Linked DNA regions of Homo sapiens: regions 2, 3 and 4 are each linked to region 1. The links are contacts of gene promoters, found by promoter capture Hi-C in blood cells and fetal thymus (Javierre and others, 2016). All regions are on one chromosome and are shown on one strand. The core of a region is centred on a gene start or on the middle of the fragment in contact, and the rest is flanking DNA. Distances in the headings are between cores, read along the strand shown. Region 1 holds the start of FBXL22 (F-box and leucine rich repeat protein 22). Region 2 overlaps LINC02568 (long intergenic non-protein coding RNA 2568). Region 3 overlaps LINC02568 (long intergenic non-protein coding RNA 2568). Region 4 has its middle 52 kb from the start of LINC02568.

Evidence for each region. Contacts are between HindIII fragments. The CHiCAGO score rates a contact against its expected background, and 5 or more counts as called.
Region 2: a contact is called between a fragment that was not itself captured here and the fragment with the promoter of FBXL22 in region 1, in 2 of 17 cell types (M1 macrophages and M2 macrophages). The highest score is 6.5, in M1 macrophages.
Region 3: a fragment that was not itself captured here is called in contact with the fragment with the promoter of FBXL22 in region 1 in 2 of 17 cell types (M1 macrophages and endothelial precursors); the score reaches 5.7 in M1 macrophages.
Region 4: a fragment that was not itself captured here is called in contact with the fragment with the promoter of FBXL22 in region 1 in 1 of 17 cell types (non-activated CD4 T cells); the score reaches 6.1 in non-activated CD4 T cells.

What each region holds. Positions count from the first base shown.
Region 1 is chr15:63,595,176-63,598,915 of GRCh38, reverse strand. It overlaps FBXL22 (F-box and leucine rich repeat protein 22), which reads right to left and starts at 1,529. Exons shown (of 2, transcript NM_001367807.1): 1 at 1,171-1,529. The coding sequence starts at 1,523. The region is part of intron 1 of USP3-AS1 (USP3 antisense RNA 1); the gene reads left to right. The HindIII fragment of the contact is 9,685 bases long and covers 1-3,740 here.
Region 2 is chr15:63,400,858-63,404,597 of GRCh38, reverse strand. The region is part of intron 4 of LINC02568 (long intergenic non-protein coding RNA 2568); the gene reads right to left. Among named protein-coding and RNA genes, the nearest start is that of LINC02568, 12 kb to the right of the region's middle. The HindIII fragment of the contact is 2,865 bases long and covers 378-3,242 here.
Region 3 is chr15:63,419,331-63,423,070 of GRCh38, reverse strand. The region is part of intron 4 of LINC02568 (long intergenic non-protein coding RNA 2568); the gene reads right to left. Among named protein-coding and RNA genes, the nearest start is that of LINC02568, 31 kb to the right of the region's middle. The HindIII fragment of the contact is 895 bases long and covers 1,683-2,577 here.
Region 4 is chr15:63,440,011-63,443,750 of GRCh38, reverse strand. No RefSeq gene overlaps it. Among named protein-coding and RNA genes, the nearest start is that of LINC02568, 52 kb to the right of the region's middle. The HindIII fragment of the contact is 6,752 bases long and covers 1-3,740 here.

The DNA.
Region 1 (3,740 bases), core at 280-2,779:
AAGAATGGAACAACTTCAGGACATGTTGTGCCATTCGCCTCCCCCCAACCCCCACCCATGTCACTCTAGTCTAATTCCTGGGCCTTGTTAAGCCCATCAAAATAGCCTTGTCCAGTCGGGGCCCAACCCCAAGTCCATCTTCTGTTTTCTTCCTACCAGCTCAAAAGAAAGGTGGGGTCACTACGCTGTTTCCTTCCACTCCTGTCGTGCTGCCAGCAAATAGCAGCTATGAACTTGGGTGGCAGTAAACTGGCTGAGTCTAGTTTTCCATGAACAGCCAGGGCCAGTTTGTTATATGATCAAGGGGGTGTTTTTCCTCAAAGGCAGCACGGGACTGGCAGAAGCTCAGTGAGAGGCTGGTTGAATAGCTCTGTGTTCTTGCCTGGGCCGCTCTGCCCATGAGGCTGGGACCATGGAGGGAGCCTGGCCTGGTGGTTCAGTGTCTATGTCTGTGTCTGGGGTGGGGGTTAGCAGATAAACACAAGATGTATTTGGGACATACTTACACTAAAATATTATTCACTGTTTATCTGAAATTCATATTTAACTGGGCAGCCTATATATTTGCTAAAATCTGGCAACCCTAGACTGGGCAAATCATACCACCTCGTGGAGCATCAGTTTGCTAATTTGAAAAATTAGGCTAAGCCACCCTCCTTAGGAATACTGTGTAAATCAGTAATTCATCTACTCCTGGAGTCTGGTTTGGCTCAGCTGACCTGAGCACCCTGGCTTCTCCACCTCTGGCTCCCCACCCTCTCTTTCCTCCGTAGTTTCCCAGGCCTTGAGGGCTGCTTGCTAGGCCTAATGGAGGGGTGAGCTGATTGCTGCATCTGGAAGCCTTTTCCCAGAGCCTGACCTTGAAAATCCAGGCCCAGCTGGACCCACCCAGCACTTAATGACTACCAGTACGGAGGCCCCACTTCTTGGTGTTTGCATGAAGCAGCCCAGGACCTGTGAGGCTAAGAGGAGGATTAGCAATTGTTTCCCTCATGATTTTATTGTCTCCTGGGGACCCTGCTTTGGGCGGTCTGGATGTCTGCCTTGGGCCTAGTTTGAGGCGCCCCGAAGGTGGAGCCATCTTGGTCTCGTAATTTGCTCTTCCCTGCCCCCCAAGAGGGAAGCCAGAGCTAGCGGGGCCAGCACTGCTCAGGAGGCAAGGTGGCCTACCTGTCGCACACCCGGAGGAGGAAATCATTGACCAGGCTCTCGTGCCGGCTGCAGATGCTTCTCTGGAAGGCACTCTTGAGCCAGTCCTCAATGCTGCACACCTGCACGCGGCTGGAGTGCCAGCAGATGGAGAGGCTGCGGAGTGCCGGGCCCAGGAGGAAGTTGTCCTTCTGGAGTTCAGTGAGGGAACGGAAGTGCAGCAGGGACCAGAGTGCGGGGTCCTCAAACACGTCGTGGAGCTGGGAGCAGGTCCTGGCAAGGCTCTTCCTGCTGTCCTTGTCTAGGAAGGAGAAGAGGTGCAGCAGGCACTCCCGGTTGAGCTGGGTTATGTGCATGGTGAGCAGTGGCCACATGTGAGTGCAGCTGCAGCCGGGGGACGGCTGACCTGCCTCCTCTCCTCCTCCCCGACTCTGGGCCGGTGGACATATATGGTTGAGGAATGGTGTTTATTTTTGGCTAACAACTGGTGCTGAAGCTCTGCGGAGGGGTGAGGGAAGAAAAGCCAGGACCCAGACACATGTGCGGCAGTCTGTGGTTCGGCTTATGTTCAGAGGGATTGGAGGTCCTGGCAGAAAAGGAGCCTATTGAAGTTACTTTCCTTAAAAGGGATTTTTTTTTTCCCTTTAGCTGACAATGGTGTTTAGCAGTGAGCACTTTTGGCTTTTCCCAAGGCGTTTTCATTGGCAGTGGTGGCGGCCAGGCCAGCTCTGTCTGGCTTTGCAGTCTGTACTTAGGGGGAAGGAGTGTAATTGTAAATGTTAACTGTTTTGATTTTCTAGTACATCAGTGTGAATCTTTTGCTCCACCCTTACTAGGAAGAAACCTGTTGCGTGTGGAGAGCTAAGGGTGACGGTTGTGAGTTGTGAGCAGAGTCCATGGCTGCTGCCTCATTCCTGTTATTTTTGTGCCATAGAGTAATTGTCTCCAGGCTAGGCTGGTTGGCCTTCAAGCCCTGCTGCCTGCCACTAGGCAGGGGGATTTTCCTGGGCCTCCCCAACAGCTAGATTTTTACCCTGAGTTGTTTCATAAAAGAATTTTACTGAAGTAGCTGCTTTCCAAAGTTGTGTGTCTGTGTTTTATGTTTTATTGGTGCTTTGTTGTTGTTGTTGTTGTTTTTGTAGTTTTGGTCAAGCAGTACTTTCTGTGTTTTAAATTTAAATTTACTTGGCTTTACATTTTCTCACTGATAAGGCCTTGTACTATGTATAACCTGTACTTCCCAAAATGTCAGGATGGATGAGGTAGCTCTTAATGTGAAACTGCTTGAAACAATTTTAAGTTCAGTATTTTAGTCCATCTTTGCCTTTAAGTTGACCACACACCATCCATTCTATGAGTGCCCTCCGTTCCCTCTTGGAGAAGCCAGTGGGCCACCCCTGCCCTCTCTGACTCAACTCTAGGCAAGGTGCCTGGAGGTACTATCCGTGAAGCTCCCCCTTCCTGAGTACCCGAGGCTTCACGATATGGCAGACCCGTTTCCTCATGCTGCTTCACTCCCAAACCCAGGACCCAACCTTAACTCTCCTGCTTTGAATCCCAGTCGTTGTTTTTTGGTTTGCTTGGGGGATGCTGATATGGTGCAGCTGTATAGGCCACGTTCTGCCTAGGCAATAGTGAGAAGAGAATGGTTTTTCCTCTGCCAGCCCAGGGACCACCACCTCAGTGGTTACTTCTGTTTGTTCTCCCATTTGGAATAAGAGGGAATGGGAATCCTTGTGTTTTCCCATAGACACAAATGAAGCAGCCTATGCTGAACCCACTTCTGGAACTAAGGTTTGGTCAGGGCTGGTGCAGCTTTGCCTTTAAAGCAGAAGGCAGTCAAGCAAAGAAGGAAGTAGCCATTGTCAGTGGCTTTCCTGAGAAGCCAGCCTCAGCTGGTGCCCCTGTGCCTCCATTACTCCACCATGCCAAGATGAAGTACAGTAGGGGGTTCTCTTAAAAACAAACCAAGGAGGTCGAAAGGAAGCATTTCCCAAGGAAGGGGAGCAAGATACTGCTGCTATTTCAAGCTCATCAATGTAGTTCTGAATTATAGCTGACACCCTAATTTAGGCTCTGTCTAGGTGTACTTCTCCACTTAAAATGGATGCTGCAAAACCACAGGTGGTGTTATTAGAAAGCCACATTATCTCCACTTTCCCTCCCCAATCCTCCTCAAACCAATGCTTTTCAGAGGGTTTGACCCTTAGGAATAGGTGGTTCTTTCCACTTCTTGCAAGGCCAGAGTGGTACTTGTGCCTTCCACTGAGTAAGTGTCACTGTGCTTCAGCATGGCTTCCAAGTTGCACTACTGCAGCCCAGCTGGAATGGCAAAAGATTGGCAGGGAGAACATTTAGAGCATTGCCCCTCTGCTGTTCCTCCAGGTAGGCTGCAGGAAGCATCCTAGACTACCAGGGCCAGGGGGAATGTGCTCCTGCATGCTGCAGAGGGTCTGAGGCACAGCCAGGAGATGACGAAGCTCTGCCCCTTTGGGCTTGTCCAGAGCTATGCTGTTTGGCAGCAGTGACAGCAACCACGCAGCCTCTGACCAGCACAGCTGCCAAAAGAATGTGCCCTACGGAACAAGGAT
Region 2 (3,740 bases), core at 561-3,060, 190 kb after region 1:
TCTTGAACTCCTGACCTCGTGATCCACTCACCTCGGCCTCCCAAAGTGCTGGGATTACAGGTGTGAGCCACCACACCTGGCCAGAAGGCTCTCTTTCTAATGTAAACTTTCACTGGCAGTCAGAAGGTGTCACTTACCAGAGTATTCTAATTCTTAGCAAATCGTCATTGCACATAAAGTGAACACAGTACCACATCTCCACGCATTAGACACATCGTCACTGAAACCATGCAGCCTCATTCAGAAATGACCTTGTGTCTGAGAGCTCATCTTCCTGGAATCATTTTAGTTTGATCCTTTCAAGGCTGTGAGATTTATTTTCAAGTATTATTTTTCTTTTCAAAAGTTATTCATAATTCAATTTAATTTTAAAAGCTTCATATACACATATCTACACAGATATGCACACGTACACTCACGCCTGGTACAAATCCAAATACTATACAAGGGTTCTCCACATAAATGTCCATCCCAGCCAAACAGCACTGTGTTACCAGTTTCCCGTGTCTCATTCCAGAGCCGTTCTATGCATAAAATATATATTTTTAGGTATTTTTTAAGAAGATGTACTGTTTAATTTTAAAGCTACTTTAGCATAAGACAAGGTAAAAAAGTAGGAACCTATAGATTAAAAAAGAAAAAAAAGGGCCTGGGGTATAATTGTTTTAAATGACGTGTTGATGTGTTGAGTTTAAAAATATTTTGATGTGTTCCAATGCATGGAAAACAAGATGGTCTGAAATCATTGTCCTGAACAAACTGTCCAATGTGATTACATATTTTGTGTGTGTACCTTGGCAAGGTCACGTTAACAAGTTTACATAATAATATACAGAAAACAGGAAGCCACCCAATAGACTGGAGTGAGCAGGGAGGGACAGGGAGGAGCAGAAAGACCGTCTCAAGAACTGCCACTTAGAGAAGAGGTGCTGAGAAGGAAAAGAGGTGAGCCGAGCGAGGTAAACAAAGCCTCAGGCCCATGCTTTCCAACAGGATTGTCTGCAATGGTGGGAATGATCGCGTCTGCGCTGTCCAATATGGTAGCCGCTAGTGCTGTTGAACACTTGCAATGGAACCAGCGAGACTGAGGGATTGAATTTTTATTTTAATTTTGTTTTACTTAATTTGAATTTAAACAGCCACATGGGGCAGTGGTTACCATACTAGATCGTGTTGCTCTGGGGTTTGTAACATCTTGGGAGGCATCAATGGGCTTAGAGAACTAAGAATGGAAAGGGGGCAGAGGATAAACATGGGGTAAATAAAAGCAGAAGAGGAAAGAAGGAGGGCAAGGAGCAGGAGAAAGAGTGACATTCAAGTGGAAAGGCATAGACTGAGAGGAATAATTGTCTTAAGTGATGAGTGGCCCCTGATCTCACTTGCTGAGACCTTCTGGTGTGATTCTGAGGTCTTCTGCAACCGCACACAGAAACAGTCTCTTCTAGAGCAATACTGTACTTGCTTACCCTGGGAGGCCTGTAGGTCTTCATCTCCTTATCTTATTGTGAAGGGAGCAAGGGTACACAATCCCAGGGACTCCCCTACTCCATTGTGTGAAATAAAATAGTTTACTCCAAGAAAACCCCACAGTTTTGATACTCCACTAGGTGTCACCATTAGCCAAAATGAGCTTTTATTTTTTATCGTTTTTAACCTGCAGAATTTGGTGAGTTTCTTCTCTGGGTCTATTGTTGATCTTTACAATTCATTTAGGTATTTTCCTACTTTGTCACAGACAAAGCAAAGTGGCTTGCGCTCCTGGAGGCTACCCAATAGGGATACTCATTCTAATTTGGTTTATTTTTCGTTGCAGTTAAAACTCAGTTACTAAGGCCGGATGTTGTGGCTCATGCCTGTAATCCCAACACTTTGGAAGTATGAGGCAGGAGGACCGCTTGAGACCAGGAGTTCCAGATTGGCCTGGGCAACATAGTGGGACCCCCATCTCTACAAAAAATTTTTAAAAATTAGCCAGGCATGAGGGCGTGCAACTGTAGTCCCAGCTACTTGGGAGGCTGAGGTGAGAGGAGCATTTGAGCCCTGAGCCCAGGAGATTGAGGCTGTAGTGAGCCATAATTGTGCCACTGCACAGACAGAGCTCTAGACCTTTTCTAAAAAAAAAAACAAAACAAAACAAAACAAAAAAACTTCTGCTAAATACCACAAATGTGTGTGTGTACACACGTGCTCGGCTTCCCAAAGTGCTGGGATTACAGGTGTGAGCCACCATGCCTGGCTAACATTCATTCTTAAATATTTACTGTGTGCTATGCAGGGGCCCCATGTACACTGCACAACTCTGGGGATGGGAGCAGAGGGCACAGTTTGCACAGACCTCAATGTAAATAGTGTTTCCTGAAGTTGTGCAGCCTAGCAGCTCTGCAAGACTCTGGTCTGGGCCATAAGAACTGTATTAGTCCATTTTCATGCTGCTGATAAAGACATACCCAAGACTAGGTAATTTATAAAGAAAAAGAGGTTTAATGGACTCACAGTACCACATGGCTGGGGAGGCCTCACAATCATGGTGGAAGGTGAAATGCATGTCTTACATGGTGGCAGACAAGAGAGAATGGGGGCCAAGAGAAAGGTGAAACCCTTTATAAAATCATCAGATCTCGTAAGACTTATTCCCTACCACACGAACAGTATGGGGGAAACCGCCCCTATGATTCAGTTATCTCCCTCCAGGTCCCTCCCACAACACATGGGATTATGGGAGCTGCAATTCAAGATAAGATTTGGGTGGGGACAGCCAAACCATATCAGGGACAAAATCATGAGGAAGATATGGGCCCTGCTTTTTCCATCCTCTCTGTTCTATTTCTTAGGAGAGTTCCTTAGTCTAAAACCTTCTTTGTAACTAGAAATATCTATGCCCTATATAAATTCTCAGAGTTATACATGTAACAGTTAGCTTTCCCTTCTATCCTTGTAAAAACAACTAAAGTTTAGTTCCTTTTCAGAGAAGTAACACCTCTCCCTGAGCATTATTTTATTAATAAGGCAAAGTATTATTCCAGCTGGATAAATCAAGTCATGGCCTTTGCCCTTGGGAAATTCAATAAGATCCAAAATAAAATCCTTAAGTTTTGCATATCTAAATTTGGCCTTTGAACAGAAGAGGAGTAGTAGCAATTGAACATGAATCTGGGGATCAGGACCCCTAGAATCTAGCCTGACTAGGCTTTCTTGGGGAATGTACCAGTTAGGTTGGGGGTAAAACAAACCACCCCAAAGCTTAGTGGCTTAAAGCAATGAACACTCATCATTTTTCATGATTCTGTGAGTCAGTTGAGCCGTTCTGATCTAGGCTGGTATGCAGATCGGAGGTGTGTAGGTGGCTCAACTGGGGTTGGCTGGCCTCCCTCACATACATGAAATTGACAGGCTGGTTAGTTGAGGAGGACTTAGCTGGGATGGTTTGTCTCTGCTCCATGTGATCTCTCCTCCTCCACTAGGCTAGCCCAGGCTTCACATAATGTTCTCAGCATGGTGGTCTCAGGGTATAAAAGAGCAGCAAGAGAAAGCAAGCTTCAGTGTGCAAGTGCTTGAATATTTCTTCTTGTGTCACATTTGCTCTTGTCCCATTGGCCAAAGAAAGATACATGGCTAAGCCTTGAGTCAGTGCGAAAGGTATTATCCAAGGATGTTGTAGAGAGAGGTATGAACAAATTAAGGACCAGTGTTGTAACAATCTACTGAAAAAATTAATTTAATTTCTCCTTATCTCAGTGTTT
Region 3 (3,740 bases), core at 881-3,380, 180 kb after region 1:
GCGGAAACAAGGAAATGATGTAAGCCACCATAAATTAAAGGATAGTGAAGAACGAACAGAGGTCCTGAGTAGATAGTCCATCCGTCTAATCATCATCTACCCATCATCCATCCATCCTTCCATCCATCCATCCTCCATCCATCTACTTATTTAAGAAATAATTATTAATACCTCGGTGGAGGAAAGTTCATCTGTATCCTCCTGACTCTTAGTCCTATTCAGGAATAACTGAGACCTCATACCTAGTTTGCCTTTAGGAAAATTACCGTCAAGGCACACACAGATTGTACCTTGGGCGGTGCTCTGGCAATAACAGATATCCTGTTGTGTGAACAATGGTCTATCCTGTCAACTCAAGCCATTTAATTTAATTTTAACTTTAATTTTTTCATTGAGACGGAGTCTCTGTTGCTGAGGCTGGAGTGCAGTAGCGCGATCTCGGTTCACTGCAACCTCTGCCTCCCTCCTGCGTTTAAGCGATTCTCCTGCCTCAGCCTCCTGAGTAGCTGGGATTGCAGGCTCCTGCCACCATGCCCGGCTAATTTTTGTATTTTTAGTAAAGACGAGGTTTCACCATGTTGGCCAGGCTGGTCTCGAAGTCATGACCTCAAGTGATCTGCCCACCTCGGCCTCCCAAAGTGCTGGGATTACAGGTGTAAGCCACCACGTCTGGCTTCAAGCCATTTTAAATCAGGCCCCCAAAACACTGGGTTGTCAGGAATTAGGGTAGAATGAGAGACATACTTAGATCAAATTGTGTTGAAGGAAGAGGGAGCCATTTAGACAAGAGACCCTTCTTCAAGAAGGGATACAGAGATGGATGGGAGTGGAAGTTCACGTCTCTCCCTCTATGTCTTCCATTCCTCCCCTGATTCTGCCTCTTCTACCCCCAACCCAAGAGCATGATTTGGTCCTTAAGAGCCAACCAGCCTCTTAGTTGACAGATGTGTGAACCTCTCTTAGAAATGCTGGAATAAACCCCACTCAAAAAGAAATCTGGAGTCTGGAAGAGAGGATCAGGTTTGGAGTCTACATGCGCCTAGATTCAAGTGCCAGCTCTAACACTTAGAAGTTGTATAATCTTTTTTTTTGAGACAGTTTCACTCAGTAGCCCAGGCTGGAGTGCCATGGCACGATCTTGGCTCACTGCAAACTTCACCTCCTGCATTCAAGTGATTCTCATGCCTCAGGCTCCTGAGGGGCAGGGATTACATGCTTGTGCTACCATACCCAGCTAATTTTTGTATTTTTAGTAGTGATGGGGTTTCACCATGTCGGCCAGGCTGGTCTCGAACATCTGACCTCAGATGATCTGCCCTCCTCCACCTCCCAAAGTGCTGGGATTATAGGTGTGAGCCACTATGCCTGTCCTCAAAGTTGTATAATCTTGATTAAGTCATTGAACTTCTCTAGGTCTTGGTTTTCTCATCTGTAAAATGGGGATACTAACCTTATACAGGTGGTTGAGAGGATTAAACCAAATAACAGGTGTGGGTATAATATTTCCCAAGCTATAACCTTGAGTATCCCCCAAATATCGAATTTTGTTTTTCTGTAATTTAAACAATATCTTGAGCTCCCATTTTAACTACTGATTAAATATAAACAACAATAACAAAATAGTCAATTCTAAGCAAATTCAGACACTTAAATGTGTTTCTTGGTCATTTTAGTTTTAAGCTTGCTCAAGTCAGTATTTTCTCCTTCTCTTTCTTCTCTCTGGGGAGTTCTCCTCTGTCCTGGGGTTGCTCAAGTGTTAGCTCCGTAGTGGAGAGAGACACCTGCCCTTGTTTATTTCCTGAAACTTAATTCATCTTGACTAGCCTTTGGTCCAGAATTTGCTGGCATCTTTTGGGACATCCACACACCTCCCTTACCTGTTACCAGGTCTGCACAAGTCCCTCTATACTCTTTTTGTCCTTCTTAGAGCCTCAGAGACCCTCCTAGGCCATTATCTTTAAAATGTTTTAAATTTACCTTAAATAAACAACTAACAAACCCATATCATCCACCATGACAAGGGTACAAAAAGGAAAACAAAATTCTCTCATCTGTCCTTGTCCCACAGCCCCCTACTTCTCCTCCCTAGGGGCAACCCTTTTTACCAGTTTCTTATGTGTCCCTTCAAAAATAATTTAAGCATATATATATATATGCTTGTAATGCATATATAGTCAATGCATTATATGTATTATATATATTATGCTTGTAAATGCATATATATTATGCTTGTAAATGCATATATATTAAAAATCATCTATCATTGATCTAAGTTCACTATGGACTTTAACTCGTACACACACACATACATATATATAACCTTGTTAACTGCCTTAGAAAACAAAGCCTAAGGCAAAGTTTCTGTGCTAACACTTTATGGAGGGACAATCTCAGAGCACAGCATGAGTCAGCGGAAAATGGAAGTGAGATGGTGTACTAATTTCCAAGTGCTGCCATAACAAAGTACTGCTAATACATACGGGATGGCTTAAAACAACAGAAAGGTATTCTCCCACAGTTCTGGAGGCTAGAAATATGAAGGCAAGCTGCCGGCAGGGCCATGCTTCCTTGGAAGCTTCTAGGAGGAGGATCCTTCCTTGTCTCTTCCAGTTTCTGGTAGCCCCAGATGTTCTTTGGCTTGTGGTGGTGTAATGCCCATCTCGGCCTCTGTTGTCACATAGCGTTCTCCCCTTGTGTCTGTGTCTGTGTGTCTCTCATCTTCTTATAACACCAGTCACCTTGGCTTAAGGACCCACCCAACTCCAGTATAACCTCGTCTTTTATTACATCTGCAATGATCCTATTTCCAAACAAGTTCACATTCTGAGGTACTGGGGGTTAGGACTTCAACATATGTTTGTGGGGGCACAATTCAACCCATAACAGGCAGGAAAGTAATCTCATGATGATGTTGCCAAGCTGGCTGAAGCTTCACAAGAAACACAAAGCATTTGGGTTCACATGGCAGATCTCCAGAGAGGCACATGGGGCCACTGTGCCTCAAAACAGTCTTTTTGGGATGTGAGGAAGAAACGAATTTATCTGCAGGATCTTATCCCCCATCTCTCATTGGTCAAAGTTCACCCACGGGGCTTCAACTCACTCATATTTTTAGATGGAGTTCCTGCCTCCTATGGACGGCCACTAGAGAAGCCAGATCCCGTGGCCCATGGCATAGCACTTCATCCAAGTCAGAAGTGTTGGGGGTGCCTGGGCCTCAGTGGGCCTGGGCGGGGTAGGTCCAGCGCTCAGGTGTAGAACCAGGAAGGGGCGGTAAAGCAAGAGCCTGTTGCAGGGTTGTTCCCAGGGCCAGCCTGCCTTACAATGGCCTCTGAGTCCCAAATCGTCTTCCTTCACATGGCTTGGACTCTTATTTTCTCTTAATTTATCTGTCAGAAACTGCAGAGAATTATCAGGCATCCATTAAGGGCTTAAAGGCAGACTCTGAAAAATTTGACTACGCCTGCGAGTATCAGCAACCATGTGGGAATCTTAACTTCCGGAGATTACTGTTCTCTTTTACAACTTTCAACTGATTTTTATTGAGCACCTACTAGGTGGCAGCCACTGTGTAAGGCACTAGGAATATCGCAGACAAAGGAGCTTGTGTTCAAGAGGGAGAGAGACAATAAACAAACGTTGAATGCAATTCTAATAGAGCCCTGATCGGGGAAATACAGGGAATTATAAGATCCAGCCTTGCCTATGTTGCTATTTATATTCTCTTCTTAACTTTAAAA
Region 4 (3,740 bases), core at 800-3,299, 160 kb after region 1:
AGGCTGGAGTGCAGTGGCACCATCTCGGCTCACTGCAAGCTCTGCCTCCTGGGTTCATGCCATTCTCCTGTCTCAGCCTCCTGAGTAGCTGGGACTACAGGCGCCTACCATGATGCATGGCTAATTTTTTGTATTTTTTAGTAGAGACAGGGTTTCACCGTGTTAGCCAGGATGGTCTTGATCTCCTGACCTCGTGATCTGCCTGCCTCAGCCTCTCAAAGTGCTGGGATTACAGGCGTGAGCCACCGCATCTGGCCAGTTTTTTTTTTTTTTTTTCTTTTTCTGAGGCAGTCTCACTCTGTCGCCCAGGCTGGAGTGCAGTGGTGTGATCTCGGCTCACTGCAACCTCTGCCTCCGAGGTTCAAGCAATTGCTTCAGTAGCTGGGAGTAGATGGGATTACTGATGTGCACGACCACGCCAGGCTATTTTTTTTTTTTATTTTTAATAAAGACAGGGTTTCACCATGTTGGCCAGGGTGGTCTTGAACTCCTGACCTCAGGTGGTCCGCCCACCTCAGCCTCCCAAAGTGCTGGGATTACAGGTGTGAGCCACCACGCCCAACCCTATCTTTAATGATCAAAAGAAATAATTCGCAGCTATGTACTTGCAAGGTTCTAACTGCTTTAAAACTGGGGCACCGTAAGAGCTGAGAGGAAGAGCACCCCCCATCAGCAAGACTTAGACTTCCTTGAGTTTACCAGAGGCTTTCAGTTTTCAAAGTATTCCCCTATTAATTGCTGTAACTTTGGGAGGAAGGCGGGTTGGGGGGACTTATACCCATTTTATAGATAAAGAAACTGTGGACTAAAGTTACTCAACAGAACTGGGACTGAAACATCTGACATTTCCAAGACAGCATACTGATTCTGTAGCCACCAGAAGAGAAACTTTTTCCACTGGAAGACTACTATGAGCTGGGCACCGTGTTAGATGTTAGGAAGAACAGTGAACAAGACACACAAGAAAACAGTGAACAAGACCAGGGCCCAGTTTAGTGGAACTTGACCATGGTCCTCACTCTCGTCTCCAGTTTGTTCTTCTGTGCGGGGTGCTCGCTCTTGAACCTCACCTTAGCAGTGACTCTATGTGAATCCCTACTGGGGACATGCTCCGGAAAGGCAGCTATGATTGCCCATCAGCCAGATGTGCAGCTTCTCCAAGGCCACAGCTTATGGCCACTCTGTTTGGTCAGCTGGTGCCTTCACATGGCCGGTGATCAGACCCTGCACATGTCATCTCTCACATCTCAGAGACTTGGGGTCTCCAGGACCAAGCCAGAGCCCAGCGGCCAGAAGCCTGGCCTCACTTGTTGGTCCAAAGCTAACAGAGGAGCCTCCCCGGCGGGTATTCCCTTAACCACAGTCTGAATTACGATCCTTGGCCACAGACTGGTGACTTCTGTAAGTTAGGTGTTGAAGGTGGAAGAGTGGGGAAGAGGAAGGCGGGGGAGCTATTTTCATCTTGTCACAAGGGCTTAAAACACCAGTTTCTCTTGTGCCTTATTTAGATGAGTAGTCTTGACCTAAAAAAAGTCAAAGCTGTGACTCAGTTGAGCTCCGAAGTTGCTCAAAATGCTCTGAGCTCCTGTCTGGGGCTATACTGAAGAATGTCTTTGGATAGTGTGAGGTGGGCACCCTATTTGGGCAAATGAAAGAGCTTTGGAAATCATCCCCATGGTTTTCTGGCCCAGGATGAAAAGCACAGGGGTTTGAGAGTCCAACTTGCTGTTTTGGTCCACTCTTATTTTTAAACAGCATGATGGTGCGGGGAGGGGCTTGCCCATTTAAAGAGAAGTATGTTTCTAGCCTTCCAAAGCATAGGGTATGGGACTTCCAGACATGCCAAGGTGAGCTCAGAGACCAGGCCCCCACTGAGGAACCACATAGGCGATGTGTACCAGGGATGAGGTCCCCTGGGCAGAAGAGCCACTTGGCAGGGCCATGGGTGGGGAAAGTATGTTCATCACCAGGATGGCCTGAGGGAAGATTCTGGAGTCTGTGCATTTGCCTCTGGCGTCCCGAGCTGCCCTATGATCACTGCACAGCCCTATCCCAGGCCCCACTGTTGTGTCCTGTTCATGTCTTCTTTCCCAGAGAGTATCCCATACTCCAAAATGATCCCTTTGCCTGGCCACGCCTGTGTCTTTGTACTATTGTTTATTATTCATATAGAACCCCCATTGGCAGGAGAACAGTGTGCTCCCTCACTTTGTCCCATTGTCCAGGCTGTCTGGGCTCAGCATCTAAACAGGATGTATGTGAGGTGACCTGGCATAAGGCAGATTTGTGGGTTCTGGGAACTTGGGTTCAAATCCCACTCATGCTGCTTCCTGGCTTGGTGAACTTGGTCTAAGGCTGTTAACCTCCTTGAGCTTCCGTTTCCTTTTCTGTGACAATTTCATGGGCCACTAATCCACAGAAACATTTCTACCAATGGTTTCAGACAAATATGTGCAATAATGGTGGTCCTTGTACACATGTTGGAATCAGCCTTTGGTTGGAATGTCAATGCCAATACCACCCAACCATCCCCTCCAACATGGACAGGCTTGATGAAGTTATGGTCAGACTCTAACGATGGCTTTGACACCCAGAAGAATGTGTCATTCTCACAGCGCAGGCTCTGCAGCCAGACTACCTGGCTGCGTTTCTCAGGGCTTCCCCTACCTGGCTGAGTGGTCCTGGGAGCGCATTTTTGTCTCCTCATTGAGGGTGTGGGTAATACCAGTGCCCACCTCATGGTGTTGTGAAGATCAAATGAGCCGATTCATGTAAAGCTCTTAAAACTGCACCTGGCACCAAGCAGACACTTGATGAATATTATCACGAGTGGCTTATCTTTGTAAAGAATGCTCAGACGCATCATCTAATTTGCAACTTGATTTCTACAACATCCTGTGAGAGGTAGAGATCATATCATTTTGCAAATAAGGAAACTCAGATCCAAAGTGATAAAATGTCTCACTTGAGAACAGAGCCCAGGTTTTCTGCCCCTAAGATGAGTGCTCTATTTTCTCTGCTGCATGGACAGAAGTACTCTTAAAATTAAACAACAAAGGCCCCTCGCAGTCAAGTCACAAGTCGGTATTTTTGTAAATTCTTGTCAGGGACTGGATAAAAACAAGGATAGGTTTAGATGTGGTTTTTGGATAGTGGGTCTCCATTCCAATGTTAGCAGCAAGGTCCGGTGTGACCTGGCCGGTGACAACATTTCTGCAAAGGTGACCTCAGAGTTCCTCTAGGGCAGAAATGGGTGCTCTTTCTGGGCTGGTGGTGGGTGGGAAGGTGGTAAGAGAGGAGATGAGGGGTCAAGTGTATTCCCCCCTTTGGTGTCTTCCAACAAGCTATGTATTGAGGGAGTTTCTTCACTGGAGTTTGGCTGCTGTCATTACATGCCCACTTCAGTTAAATACAAATAATAATAAATTTGGTTAAAGCCAGAATCCAACATTCCAAATCGAAAAACAGTTCCAGAAATACAGAGGCAAATGCAACCAGAACCCTCTGCCTGTGGAAACAAGGATGACTGAGCACTGGTTCCCTTCATTTTGTCCCATTCCTTCCAGTCATCCACCTGCTCGTCCATGCAGTCATTCTGTCATCCAGCATGTGTTTATTCAGCTCTGCCTCTTACAGCCATCCCCATGACAGTTTCCTGTGGCTCATCCAGCAGTCACAGCCGCAGCTTAGAACAGTAGCCCTGGCGTCTCTCCTCAGGGGCAAACCTGGCAGTAGCTCAG